Linked DNA regions of Homo sapiens: regions 1 and 2 are each linked to region 3. Evidence: promoter capture Hi-C in 16 types of primary human blood cells and fetal thymus (Javierre and others, 2016). All regions are on one chromosome and are shown on one strand. The core of a region is centred on a gene start or on the middle of the fragment in contact, and the rest is flanking DNA. Distances in the headings are between cores, read along the strand shown.

Region 1 (4,492 bases), core at 277-2,776, 150 kb before region 3:
GACACAGGGTGGGGAACATTACACACTGGGGCCTGTCATGGGGTGGGGGGAGCGGGGAGGGATAGCAATAGGAGATATACCTAATGTAAATGACGAGTTAATGGGTGCAGCACACCAACATGGCACATGTATACATATGTAACAAACCTGCACGTTGTGCACATGTACCCTAGAACTTAAAGTATAATAAAAAAATGAAAAAAAAATTATCTGGGCTTTGTGGTGCATGCCTGTAATTCCAGCTACTCGGGAGGCTGAGGCAGGATAATCGCTTGAACCCGGGAGGCAGAGGTTGTGGTGGGCCAAGATCGCGCCATTGCACTCCAGCCTGGGCAGCAAGAGAGAAACTCCATTTAAAAAAAAAAATCATAAGTCAGCTTTTATTTTAAAAAAGTATTACCTCTGCCACCACCCCCTACTCCACTAATCACTCCCTTCATTGGGTAGACCTGGGTCCAGATTGCTTTTGAAACACTAAAAAGGCATAGCAAATCAGCTTTGAGAAGAGGAAGCAGAAATATGTCATCACTGGAGCAGTGCTAATGGCTTCCTCATACTTTAAAGTCTTAACTATACTGAAGTCATGTTTAAAACCTCAGTGTATGAAGTTGCTTATATTAATAGGGACCCCCCTCCCCCCAACACGCTTTCTTTTTTGAAAGATGGCAGTAGGGGGCCGGGCATGGTAGCTCACGCTTGTAATTCCAGCACTTTGGGAGCCAAGGTGGGCAGATCACCTGAGGTCAGGAGTTTGAGGCCAGCCAACCAACATGGTAAAACCTCGTCTCTACTAAAAATACAAAAACTTAGCCAGGCATGGTGGCAGGCGCCTGTAATCACAGCTACTTGGGAGGCTGAGGCAGGAGAATCGATTGAACCCGGGAGGCGGAGGTTGCAGTGAGCCAAGACTGCACCATTGCACTCCAGCCTGGGAGACAGAGGGAGACTCCGTCGCAAAAAAAAAAAAGGAAGGGAGGGAGGGAGGGAGAAAGAGAGAGAGAGGGAGGGAGGGAGAGAGAGAGAGAGAGAGAGAGAAGGAAAGAAAGAAAAAAGAAAGAAAAAGAGAAAGAGAAAGAAAGAGAAAGAAAGAAAAAGAAAGAGAAAAGAAAGAAAGAAAGAAGAAAGGAAAAGAAAAGAAAGAAAGATGACAGCAGGGTCTAACAAGTTCACGTGCCACCTGGAGGCAGTGGTAGTCATCCATGCCTTCTCGGTGAGGCACTGTACGCCAGAGTGACTTTAAAGTATGAGGAAGCCATTAGCACTGCTCCAGGGACCACATATTTTTGCTTCCTCTTCTCCAAACTGATTTGCCATATTACTTTTGGAGGCTAGATTCAGGCCCAGTTAAAGCACAGGGTGAGTTATTCCTCTGTGACATTCTTTTGTCACCAAGGGGTCTTGTTAGAGAGGCGGTTAATGCCAGCTGATATATATATTATTCAAAGGTAGGGCTCAAGGTGTGATCTGAGGTTTTTTAAAGGTTAACATCATCATCAAGTACCCAGAGAAGTGCCAAAGAGAGGAAGATGGAAAGAGGCTGGTTCCATGGGAAAGGATTCCTCCTTGGCTTCATCCTCCACCTGCTGCTGCAAGTACCTTAAGATAAGAGCAAGAGCTGAGCAGACATGTAACTCCTGGGAAGCAGAGAAAACAGGCTAATATTTTTTATTCTGAGATAGTCAATGATTGGATGTTCGTTATGGTAAAAATGATGCTCGTGACACTGATGGCTTTGTACCTCTTCCTAGGATCCTAATATTTAGTTAACTCTTTTCTCTTCTTTTTTTTTTTTTTTTTGAGATGGAGTCTCGCTCTGTTACCCAGGCTAGAGTGCAGTGGCAATATCTCAGCCCATTGCAACCTTCACCTCCCAGGTTCAAACGATCTCATGCCTCAGCCTCCCAAGTAGCTGGGATTACAGGCACCTGCCACCGTGCCTGGCTAATTTTTGTATTTTTAGTAGAGATGGGGTTTCACCATGTTGGCCAGGCTGGTCTTGAATGCCTGTCCTCAGGTGATCTGCCCGCGTGGGCCTCCCAAAGTGTTGGGATTACAGGCGTGAGCCCCTGAGCCCAGCCTGGGAACTCTTTAAGATAATCCTAGTGATGAAGACTACTAAATGTTAGAACAATCACAGCACATAGTAAAGACACAGTAAATACTCATCAAATTGAAAAACTGAAATTGATTTGTTTCCTTAAGATCCCATATATCTCACACTACCTATCTGATTACTCCCCTTATCATTAATTTATTAGCATCTATGCCATATTAATACAGCGAGGCGGAGAACTGTGAGTGCAAAATTTGTCACTGACATCACCCACATGGCTCCAGGTTGGAGGTAAGCAAGAGAAGGACACTGGCAGAAGGTGGAGAGGTTGCAGTGAGATTGTTAAGGACATGGCAGGACACTGTAAAGTGGCGGTCGGGGTTGAGTTTGCATACACATCTGGACAGGTTTTGCATGGGGACAAAACAATGGCACTGAGGATGGATCCTTGACTCAGCTCACCTCATCAGTTTCCACCATTTGCCTACCAGCTCAGCCTACTCTTCCTGGACCAGGAAGGAGGAGCTCACATGCTTCTCCCAGTGCCCCCTGTTTTCTCTCCATGCAGAAACACTCTCCAGGCCCCCCAGCCCTGGCCCTCCTCTCTCAGTCTCTGCTCACTACAGGAAATGGCGACACTTTGATTATCAATTGCCCAGGCTTTGGCCAGCACAGGGTGGACCCTGCAGCCTTTCAAGCAGTGTTTGACAGAAAGGCTATTGGTCCAGTCACCAACTACAGTGTCGCCACTCATGTCAACATCTCCTTCACCTTGTCTGCCATCTGGAAGTTGTAAGTCCTCACCCAACATTGCAGTGGTCTAGTGGTGAGCAGTGGACCCTCTGACTGGATTTTTTTTTTTTTTTTTTGAGATGGAGTCTTGCTCTTGTCACCCAGGCTGGAGTGCAGTGGTGCAATCTCAGCTCACTGCAACCTCTGCCTCCCAGTTTCAAGCGATTCTCCTGCCTCAGCCTCCGGCACGTGCTGCCCCACCCAGCTAATTTTTGTATTTTTAGTAGAGACAGGGTTTCACCATGTTGGCCAGGCTGGTCTCAAATTCCTGACCTCAGGTGATCCACCTGCCTTGGTCTCCCAAAGTTCTGGGATTACAGGCATGAGCCACCGTGCCTGGCCCTTTGATTGGATTTTGTAAAATTAGTTACTCACAACAAAAAAATCAAACAACCCAATTCAAAAATGGGCAAAGGACTTGAATAGACATTTCTGCAAAGAAGAAATACAAACAGCCAATAAGCACAAGAAAAGGTGTATGTTCAATGTTACTAATAGTTAAGAAAATGCAGATCAAAGCTACAGTAAGATATCTCACACCCACTAGGATGGCTAGTATTAAAAAACAAACAGAAGCTGGGCGAGGTGGCTCATGCCTGTAATCTCAGCACTTTGGGAGGCTGAGGCGGGTAGATCACGTGAGGTCAGGAGTTCAAGACCAGCCTGACCAACTTGGTGAAACCCCATCTCTACTAAAAATACAAAAATTAGCTGGGCGTGTTGGTGGGCACCTGTAATCCCAGCTAGTCGGGAGGAGGAGACAGGAGAATTGCTTGAACCCAGGAGGCAGAGGTTGCAGACAGCCAAGATTGTGCCACTGCACTCTAGCCTGGGTGACAGAGCAAGACTCTGTCTCAAAAAAACAAAACAAAACAAAATTAAAAAACCAGAAAATAACAAGTGTTGGTGATAATGTGGAGAAATTGGAACCCTTGTGCACTGCTTGTGAGGATGTAAAATTGTGTAGCCACTGTGGAAAAACAGTATGGCTTTTTCTCAAAATATTAAAAATAGAATTACCATACAACCAAATAATTATACTTCTGGATAAATACCCGAAAAAAGTGAAAACGGGGTATTTGTACACTTATGTTCATAGCAGAATTACTCACAATAGTTAAAACTCAGAAGCAGTCTAAGTGTCTATTGACAGATGAATGGACAGATTAAATGTGGTATGTACTTACAATGGAATACTATGCAGCCTTCAAATGGAACAAAATTCTAACACATGCCACAATGTGGATAAGCTGTGAGGCCATTATGCTAAGTGAAATAAGTCAGTCACAAAAAGACAAATAGTGTATTTGTCTAATTTTATAGAGACAGAAAGTAGAATAGCTGTTGCCAGGGGTTGGAGAGAGGGTGAAATAGGGAATTACTGTTTAACGGGTGTAGAGTTTCCATTTTGCAAGAAGAAAAGAGCTCTGGTGATGGAGGGTGGTGGCTGGACAACAGTGTGAATGTGTTTAACGCCACGGAACTGTACACTTAAAATGGTTAAGAGAGTACATTTTATGTTATATATTTTTATCACAATAAAATATTGAAAAAATTATTTTTAGCCTGGGCAACATGGCGAAACCCCATCTCTACCAAAAATACAAAAAGTTAGCTGGGCGTGGTGGTGTGTGCCTCTAATCCCAG
Region 2 (4,479 bases), core at 1,258-3,757, 130 kb before region 3:
ATGAGCAGTTTTCCTTCCTTCTTTCCTTTATTTCTTTCTCCTTCCTTCCTTCCTGCCTTCCTGCCTTCCTTCTCTCTCTCTCTCTCACTCCTTCCTTCCTTCCTTCCTACCTTCCTTTTTTTTGAGACGGAGTCACGCTCAAGTGCAGTTGCGTGATCTCGGCTCACTGCAACCTTCACCTCCCGGGTTCAAGTCATTCTCCTGCATCAGCCTCCTGAGTAGCTCGTGTCTTTCTCCCTCCCTTCCTTCTCTTTCTCTTTCTCTTTCTTTCTCTTTCCTTCCTTCTCTCTCTCTTTCTCTTTCTTTCCCTTTCTCCCTTCCCCTTCCCCTTCCCCTTCCCTTCCCTTCCCTCCCCTCCCCTCCCCTCCCCTCCCCTCCCCTCCCCTTCCCTTCCCTTCCCTTCCCTTCCTTTCCCTTCCCTTCCCCTTTCTTACAGGGTCTTGCTCTGTTGCTCAGGCTAGAGCATAGTGGCACCATTATGGCTCACTGCAGCCTTCACTTCCTGGGCTGAAGCAATTCTCTCACCTCAGCATCCCAAGTAGTGAGAACTATAAGCACATGTCACCACACCTGGCTCCTTTTAAAAATTACTTTTTAGCCGGGTGCGGTGACTCAGACCTGTAATCCCAGTAATTTGGGAGGCTGAGGCGGGTGGATCACGACGTCAAGAGCTCAAGACCATCCTGGCCAACATGGTGAAACCCCGTCTCTACTAAATATACAAAAATCAGCTGGGCGTGGTAGCGCGTGCCTGTAGTCCCAGCTACTCGGGAGGCTGAGGCAGAGAATCGCTTAAACCCAGGAGGCAGAGGTTGCAGTGAGCCGAGATTGCGCCACTGCACTCCAGCCTGGGTGACAGAGTAAGACTCTGTCTCAAAAAAAAAAAAAATTACCTTTTGTAGAGATGGGGTCTCACTGTGTTGCCTAGGCTGGTCTCAAACTCCTGGGCTCAAGCGGTCTTCCTGCCTCGGCCTCCCAAAATGTTGGGATTACAGGCATGAGCCACCGTGCCTGGCCTGGAGCAGGTTTTCTAGCAATTCCTCTGTTCCCTTCTATTCCTCCCTTTCTCACTCCTTCCACTCCAGTACTTCTAGCCACCTTTCTGCCTCTCTTTCTCCCCTCTTTGATTCTTTCTTTCCCTTCAACCTCTGGCTCAAGTTGGCCAAGTTTCCAAGTCAGGGAAGAAATTACTTGCAGAGGTGGTAGGTCTGAAGGACTGCAGCTACCGCAAACCTCAAATGGAATCCACTGCAGCCCTCTCCTGTGCCTTCCTACTTTGGGCCTCTAAGTCATTCCTGCATTTCTCAGCACTTTCTACTTAGGGCTGTCATGATCACTAATTCTGAACAAAGTTTTTTTTGTATTCTACATCTGGCCCTTCACCCTTTCTGCAAGGAAAAACTGTCCAAGTCTTTCTGGAAACGTAGCTAAGATACTTGAAATAAAAATGCTCCAATTCATTCATTTGAGCCAATTTTTTTTAATAGGAATGTGGTGACATAAGACATAATATTAACACATGCCAATGATATTGATGTTAGCTGAGATTACTAGTTTACAATAATGCTATATATTAACACTATTGACAGCACAAAGTGTTACTATCTTAATTTTATGAGTTCTATTATCATGTAATCAGTGCATAGCCTAAAAATTATACGGAGAACATTGGTTTGGAGAGAATAAATCAGAAAGGCAGAGACGCTGTAAAGAGGAAATCTAGTTAGGGGCTACTGGAAAAGCATAGACACTAGATGATGAAGGTATGAACCAAGCTTTATAATTTGGCATTTGGAATAATTCCAATGTCAACAAAAGCTGTAAGATACTTTGGTAAGGGGGCCGGGCGCGGTGGCTCACGCCTGTAATCCCAGCGTTTTGGGAGGCTGAGGTGGGTGGATCACGAGGTCAGGAAATCGAAACCATCCTGGCTATCACAGCGAAACCCCGTCTCTACTAAAAATACAAAAAATTAGGCGGGTGTGGTGGCACACACCTGTAGTCCCAGCTACTCAGGAGGCTGAGGCAGGCAGGAGAATCGCTTGAACCAGGCAGGTGGAGGTTGCAGTGAGCCAAGATCGTGCCACTGCACTCCAGCCTGGGTGACAGAGAGAGACTCTGTCTCAAAAAAAAAAAAAAAGATACTTTGGTATTCATAACCAAATCACTAAGTATTGCACCTGGTCTTGGTGCACACAGATTCCCTGGTCTTGGAAGCACACAATCCTAATTTCCCCAGCCTACATTCTCTCATTAAGGCACGTTATTTTGTTTTGGATCTCAGCACACAGCTGCCAAATAGAATGCTTTTCCCCTAGTGTCCGCCCAATTTCCTGCCTGCCTGGAGCCCGGAAGGTGCATCTGGGCAGAGCCAATGCAGGACACTTGGCTGGGACCTCTCTGGTCACAGGCTGTCACAGGGAGTGGTCACTTGCCATGAGTAGTATTCAAAACCAGCAACCAGGGTGTGGTCTGAGCTCCTTTAAGCTCCAGGGTTTGGGAGCTCCTGGTGAATCCCCAGAGAAGAGTCCAGAAAGAAGAATGGAAGGAGGGTGGCCTGCAAGGCAGAGTGCCCTCCTCTGCCTCACTGTCAGTCTTCTGCTTCAAGGTAAGATGGGACGAGAACAGGGAAGACCAGAGTGTGGTTCCGAGGGACACCTGGACTCACCTCTAGCACTTGGAGGGCATTCAGAATTAATGTGTTAAATATTTCTTCCATAATGTCTGTGTCCTGATTTCCTTTTGGTGACAGATAGAAAGACAGTTCACTGATGAGTGCACACAGACTTTCTCTGTTCCTGCCTGCACAGGGATCTATCAAACTGTCTCATTTCACCACTTCTCCAATTCCACCTTTTCACTGACTTCTGATGCTCCACTACCACACCCTTCTTCCCCCTCTCCTTGTCTCTGTTTCTCCTGACATGATATCTATGAGAAGAGTAGCCACTGATTTTAAACATGCCCTGAGGGAGGGGACAATCTGAGGTGGAAATGAGCAGATATTTTGCTTCCATGAGGTAATATTTGTTCCCAATCTGGACACATACCTTAAATATTATGGAAAGAGATGGAGATAGAGAGAAGGAGGCAGAGAAAAGGACCATATAATGATGGCGATGGAGCAAAGATGCCACTCAGGTACTACCCAGATGACTCCCTGGCCATGGCCGAGAGACAATATCTGCACCGGCCTCACTTTGTGGTTTTGTTGTTGTTGTTGTTTGTTTTTTGACATGAAGTGTCGCTCTGTCGCCCAGGCTGGAGTGCAGTGGCACGATCTTGGCTCACTGCAACCTCCGCCTCTCGGGTTTGAGCGATTCTCCTGCCTCAGCTTCCTGAGTAGTTGGGATTACAGGCGAGCGCCACTATGCCCAGCTAATTTTTGTATTTTTAGTAGAGATGGGGTTTCACCATGTCGGCCAGGATGGTCTCGATCTCTCGACCTTGTGATCCGCCCACCTCGGCCTCCCAAAGTGCTGGGATTACAGGCGTGAGTCACCGCGCCCGGCACACCGGCCTCACTTTGTGACTGAACAAATGCTGTATGCTCAGTGATGTCACCTCATGATCCCGATGCTAGAAATAACCCACGAGACAACTGAGGTCACTAAATCTGAGAAGAGCAAAATAAATGCATAGCACCAAGGTAAGCACCCAGTCAGATACCTACCGTGTTTCTCATATCTACCTGGTGAGTGCAGTTGTGTAAAATGTCTCTTATCCTCTTGATAAATCAGTTCTTGCCTTCAGTAGACTTAAGATCCTAAGAGTTAGAGAGAGAAATACATTAGCATCGATTTTTAGGTGACTTGGACCACAAGTTTTGGGCAGTTCTACTGCTAGGTGAGCCAAGAGTCTTGTGATGGGTACATTAAAGGACTCCTGGAAGTAGCTGCCATTGCACTTAGGCCAAGTTTTCATACAGATTTGGGCAAACTTTGCATGAGGATGAAGCAATGGGAATGAGAATAGAGCCCTGACCTCAGCTCACCACATCCACTTCCACCATTTGCCTACCAGCCCAGCCCATCCTCCCCAACCATGGCCTTGGGGAGTCTTGGCATGGGAAGGAGGGGCTCACCTGCTCCTCTCAGTACGTCCCCTATTTTATCTCTCTGCAGAGAGACTCCAGCCCTGGAAATAGAGTCCCTCTCTCACGGAGTCTCTGCTCTCTATAGGAAGAGGCGACGCTTTTACCATCAATTGCTCAGGCTTTGACCAGCATGGGGTTGACCCTGCTGTCTTCCAAGCAGTGTTTGACAGAAAGGCCTTCCGTCCATTCACCAACTACAGCATCCCTACCCGTGTCAACATCTCCTTCACCCTGTCTGCCATCCTGGGAGTGGTGAGACTTAGTCCCTGCATCTTTTCCATGGCTTCTAATAAGGAACGAGGACCCTCTGCCCTGTCAACCCAACATGGCCCTGGCCCCGTGGTGAACAATAGGCACCCTGGATGGATTTAACGCAAGTTAGA
Region 3 (4,188 bases), core at 11-2,510:
ATGAATCTCCATGTCTCATCACCCAGCTTCAACTATGATCAATGCGTGGCCAGTTCCTTAATATCACATCCAGTTTGTGTTCACTTAACCAGGTGTCTTATCAAATTTTTCCAGATAAGGTCCATTGTGGTTGGTTAATGCTCCTCAAATTTTAAAAATTGATGTTTCCCTTCAGGTCTTGCAATTTTGTGGAAGAAACCAGAGTTCTGTAGTTTACCACATCAGAATTTGCCTGTTGTCCCCATGAAGTCACTTAACATATTCCTCTTTACCTGTATTTCCTGTAAAATGGTTCAATATCGGGATTGATGCCTCATGATGGCAATGTTTAATCCAAAGGGATGAATGGGTAATAATGTAATTTTCGGTGCCACTTTTAGAGACCAATTGGAGGAATATTCACGTTAAATATAAAGCAGTAGCATCATTTTGGAGGAAATTCCTAACTTCCCGAGGGAATCGGTGAAAGGAAATAGCCTTTTATTGGCATTTATTGAGTGCAGAGAAGTCTGCTCAGGGTGTAGGTAGGGAATAATTTATACAGGCCACGTTGTCCTGGTTTTCTTGCCCTTTGGCGGTGGATTTGGTCGTGCCCTGGGGTGGTGGAAGAACTGAATGGGCTTAATTCACAAAGGTCGGCTGAATTACACAGTGAAAAGGCGGTCGCGGCGGGGAGGCGGGTGGCGCTGGCCACCAGGCTGAGAAGCCCGTAGGGTCTGGGGACCCGCGAAAGCAAAGCACTGAGCAGGGGGCTTCTGAGAGTCAGGGACCGGGGTGAGTCAGCAAAGCTCTGGGCAGGCTCCAAAATGGGCCTGACTGGGTACGCACCAGCAGCAGACGCGCCTCGAGGGAGCGCATAAAACCTGGCAAAGCCAAAGTGCTTTATCAGCCGCCTGCCTCTTGGGAGGCTCCCACCCGCCAGACCACGGGTGCCTCGCGGCCCCGATAAACCTTGAGCTCCCAGCCTTTGCCCCACCCCTCGCTCCCGGAACTCCACCTCCCAGAAGGCAGCGAGAACCGCACATGTGGCTAATCTTTCAGCGGAAAAGGTGTCGCGCACGCGCAGAGAGCGCGGCTCCGGCGCAGACTCGGCGCCTCTCCTCAAGGCCCCGCTCGCCCCGCCCACCGGGCTCTGCGCACTCCGCTCCTTTCCTGCGTCACCGCTACACATGCGCCTTGCAAGGAAGGGCGAGATTTCGGGGGCAGGGCGGGGGGCGGGCCTAGGCCGGGGTCTCACAGCGACTGCGCGGACGGGTTCCTGAGTGGAACATGGCGACTTGCGCCGAAATCCTGCGGAGCGAGTTCCCCGAAATTGACGGACAAGTCTTCGACTACGTGACCGGTAAGCAGAACTGAATCGGCCGGCTGGGGAGACCGAAGTGGAGGCCGGGGGAAAGTCTAAGCGAGCGTCGTGCCCGGGACTGTTGCCAGGCCTCTCCTCTGCATGACCTCTTGTCCCGGGGGCTGGTTGGGTCTGGAGCCTGGACTGGGGCCTCTGTCTGGGGTCTGAAACTGCTTGTGTGTCCACCCTACCCGATACCTTCCTCGTTCTACCACGCCCTGCCCAGGCGTCTTGCACAGCGGCAGCGCGGACTTCGAGTCTGTGGATGACCTGGTGGAAGCTGTAGGGGAACTATTGCAAGAGGTGTCCGGGGACAGCAAGGATGACGCGGGCATCAGGGCCGTGTGCCAGCGCATGTACAACACTCTGCGTCTGTATGTGCCAGGGAGTAGGGGTTGATGGGGGCGAAGGGACGGCGAACGGTCCGGAGACAAGAGGTGGGGGAGGAAGATCTGATGGCCATAGAGCTTTTCCCTCAACTCCTAACTCTGCGCTTTCTATCCCTACCCACATAGGGCTGAGCCACAAAGCCAGGGAAATAGCCAGGTGCTACTGGACGCCCCTATCCAGTTGTCAAAGATAACGGAGAACTACGGTGAGAGTGAGGGGAGGTTGAACTAACTGCCCCCCTGTGCTTTTCTCCGCCCCCAACCATCTGCTGCCTGCAGCTTAGGGCTCCTACGTCTTTTCCACAGGACAAGGTTGTAGGAGCTAGTTGATGTCTTTACCGAGGGCAGAAGAGCCCATGATGGGGGTGGGGAGGAGGTTGGAGGGTTCTCCCTCCAAGCTCTTGGGTAGGATAGGAAGCATAAGAGCCTGGAGCTGGACAGACTTGCTTTCACCCCCAGTTTTGCAACTTGCTAACCAGCTGCATGATCTTGTAAGAGTTGGTTATCTGTCCCCAGCCTTGTCTATGCCTCTGTATCCTTCTACGTGAGTTTTGTTTTGTTTTGTTTTGTTTTGTTTTTAGTGCAGGGAAGATAATAGCCATCTATCTGCAGTATTATAAGGTTTTGTAGAAAACATCTGTGTCTGTGCCTGGTTCCTATTAGTCACTCAAAATGTTAGTTTCCCTTCCCTCAGGGAGAAGGTGACTGCTTTTCTTATCGCTTACAGACTGTGGAACCAAACTTCCAGGACTGCTAAAGAGGGAACAGTCCTCGGTGAGGAGGAGGAAGCAAGGGAGGGGACTGTCTGTGATGGGGTTGGGAGTTGACTGTCTAATTGGAGTATCTTTTGGGGGGATTTCTGACTATGTCTTTTCCTGAGCCTTTGAGTCTGTTCATCATGGGTAAGTTAAGAGGGTTTACTCGAGATGTTCTCTCTTGGGGTTCCTTTCTGAGCCTACACCCGAGAGTGAAGTCGATGTGTTTGGACCCTTAGACAGTGAATGCAAAGAAGTTAGAGAAGGCCGAGGCTCGACTTAAGGCAAAGCAGGAGAAGCGCTCAGAGAAGGACACGCTCAAGACCAGCAACCCTCTGTGAGTGGGGGAAGCATGGCTCAGAAGAGAGCAGAGCAGCTTTTGCCTGGACAGAAGGTGGTGGGGAGCACTAAGAGCTGTCCATTTCTCCCTTTAAAGAGTCTTAGAAGAGGCATCAGCCAGCCAGGCAGGCAGCAGAAAGGAGAGTCGGTTGGAATCATCTGGCAAGAACAAATCCTATGATGTGCGAATTGAGAACTTTGATGTGTCTTTTGGCGATAGGTGAGGGAATAGTGGTGGCAGGGGTTGGCTTTCTTTTTCTAATTAGAGGACAATTTGGAGAGGTGAAACGGGGCTATAAACAATGTTAGGTTTGTCATTAAACTTGCTGTGCACCTATTTCTAGAGCATCTTTGGTCTCCTTTCTCCACTCCTGCAGAGTACTGCTGGCTGGAGCGGATGTGAACCTGGCATGGGGCCGCCGTTACGGGCTGGTGGGGCGGAATGGGTTGGGGAAGACAACGTTACTGAAGATGCTGGCCACCCGGAGTCTGCGGGTTCCAGCCCACATTTCCCTGCTGCACGTTGAGCAAGAGGTTGCTGGAGATGACACTCCTGCCCTGCAGAGTGTGCTGGAGAGTGACAGTGTGCGAGAGGATTTGCTACGGAGGGAGCGGGAGCTCACTGCCCAGATTGCTGCTGGCAGGTGAGGACTCCCGGCTAGGGAGTAACTAGCAGCCGCTGTCGCTTACAGAGCGCCTGCCGTCCTGGAACAATCCATAATTTGCATGTACATCCTAGTAATCAGCAGAGCTTAGAACTTGGCACTCTGGGACTCAGAAGCCCTTGTTCTTTCCACAGTGCCCATTGCCCTTTCTTGTTCTTTCCACAGTGCCCATTTCCATAGTGCCCAAGGTAATGAGCACTGTGCAAACCCTTCCTGTATTCTCTTCCTCTTCCAGCCACAAGGTAGCCAATGGCCTTTCCAACGGTATAGGGTGCAGGACATCCTCCTAGACTGCCCCTGCTTAGGCCAATTGCTGTTTCTCCTCCCTCCAGGGCGGAGGGCTCTGAAGCTGCAGAGCTGGCAGAAATCTATGCCAAACTGGAGGAGATTGAGGCTGACAAGGCACCTGCCAGGTATTTAAAGCTCCCCCTCCCTCCTTCAGATTTCCTTTCCCTTCTGTGGACTGTTCCAACTGAGTTCTTCGATTTCTTCTCTACTAGGGCATCAGTCATTCTCGCTGGGCTTGGCTTTACCCCTAAAATGCAGCAGCAGCCCACCCGGTGAGTGACCCTTGCCATTCTTGGCTTTGAACCCTGTTGTCTCAGCCCCTTCCTGCCCTGATGAACACCCACCCATAATGTGACTCCATCATTCTTTAGGGAGTTCTCAGGTGGCTGGAGGATGAGGCTGGCCCTGGC

Evidence for each region. The method cuts DNA at HindIII sites, captures the fragments that hold promoters and counts their contacts. A CHiCAGO score of 5 or more calls a contact.
Region 1: a contact is called between the fragment with the promoter of HTR3D here and the fragment with the promoter of ABCF3 in region 3, in 8 of 17 cell types (megakaryocytes, neutrophils, endothelial precursors and 5 more). The highest score is 9.9, in megakaryocytes.
Region 2: the fragment with the promoter of HTR3C here is called in contact with the fragment with the promoter of ABCF3 in region 3 in 15 of 17 cell types (M1 macrophages, neutrophils, erythroblasts and 12 more); the score reaches 16.3 in M1 macrophages.

What each region holds. Positions count from the first base shown.
Region 1 is chr3:184,030,216-184,034,707 of GRCh38, forward strand. It overlaps HTR3D (5-hydroxytryptamine receptor 3D), which reads left to right and starts at 1,527. Exons shown (of 8, transcript NM_001145143.1): 1 at 1,527-1,592. The coding sequence starts at 1,527. The HindIII fragment of the contact is 12,637 bases long and covers 1-4,492 here.
Region 2 is chr3:184,050,540-184,055,018 of GRCh38, forward strand. HTR3C (5-hydroxytryptamine receptor 3C) reads left to right here and starts at 2,508. Exons shown (of 9, transcript NM_130770.3): 1 at 2,508-2,608; 2 at 4,182-4,348. The coding sequence starts at 2,542. RefSeq lists an enhancer at 3,063-4,262. The HindIII fragment of the contact is 4,846 bases long and covers 1,774-4,479 here.
Region 3 is chr3:184,184,939-184,189,126 of GRCh38, forward strand. It overlaps ABCF3 (ATP binding cassette subfamily F member 3), which reads left to right and starts at 1,261. Exons shown (of 21, transcript NM_018358.3): 1 at 1,261-1,342; 2 at 1,569-1,716; 3 at 1,858-1,937; 4 at 2,459-2,505; 5 at 2,726-2,823; 6 at 2,923-3,045; 7 at 3,203-3,469; 8 at 3,823-3,903; 9 at 3,991-4,050; 10 at 4,150-4,188. The coding sequence starts at 1,270. RefSeq lists enhancers at 54-768, 1,246-1,565. The HindIII fragment of the contact is 6,180 bases long and covers 1-4,188 here.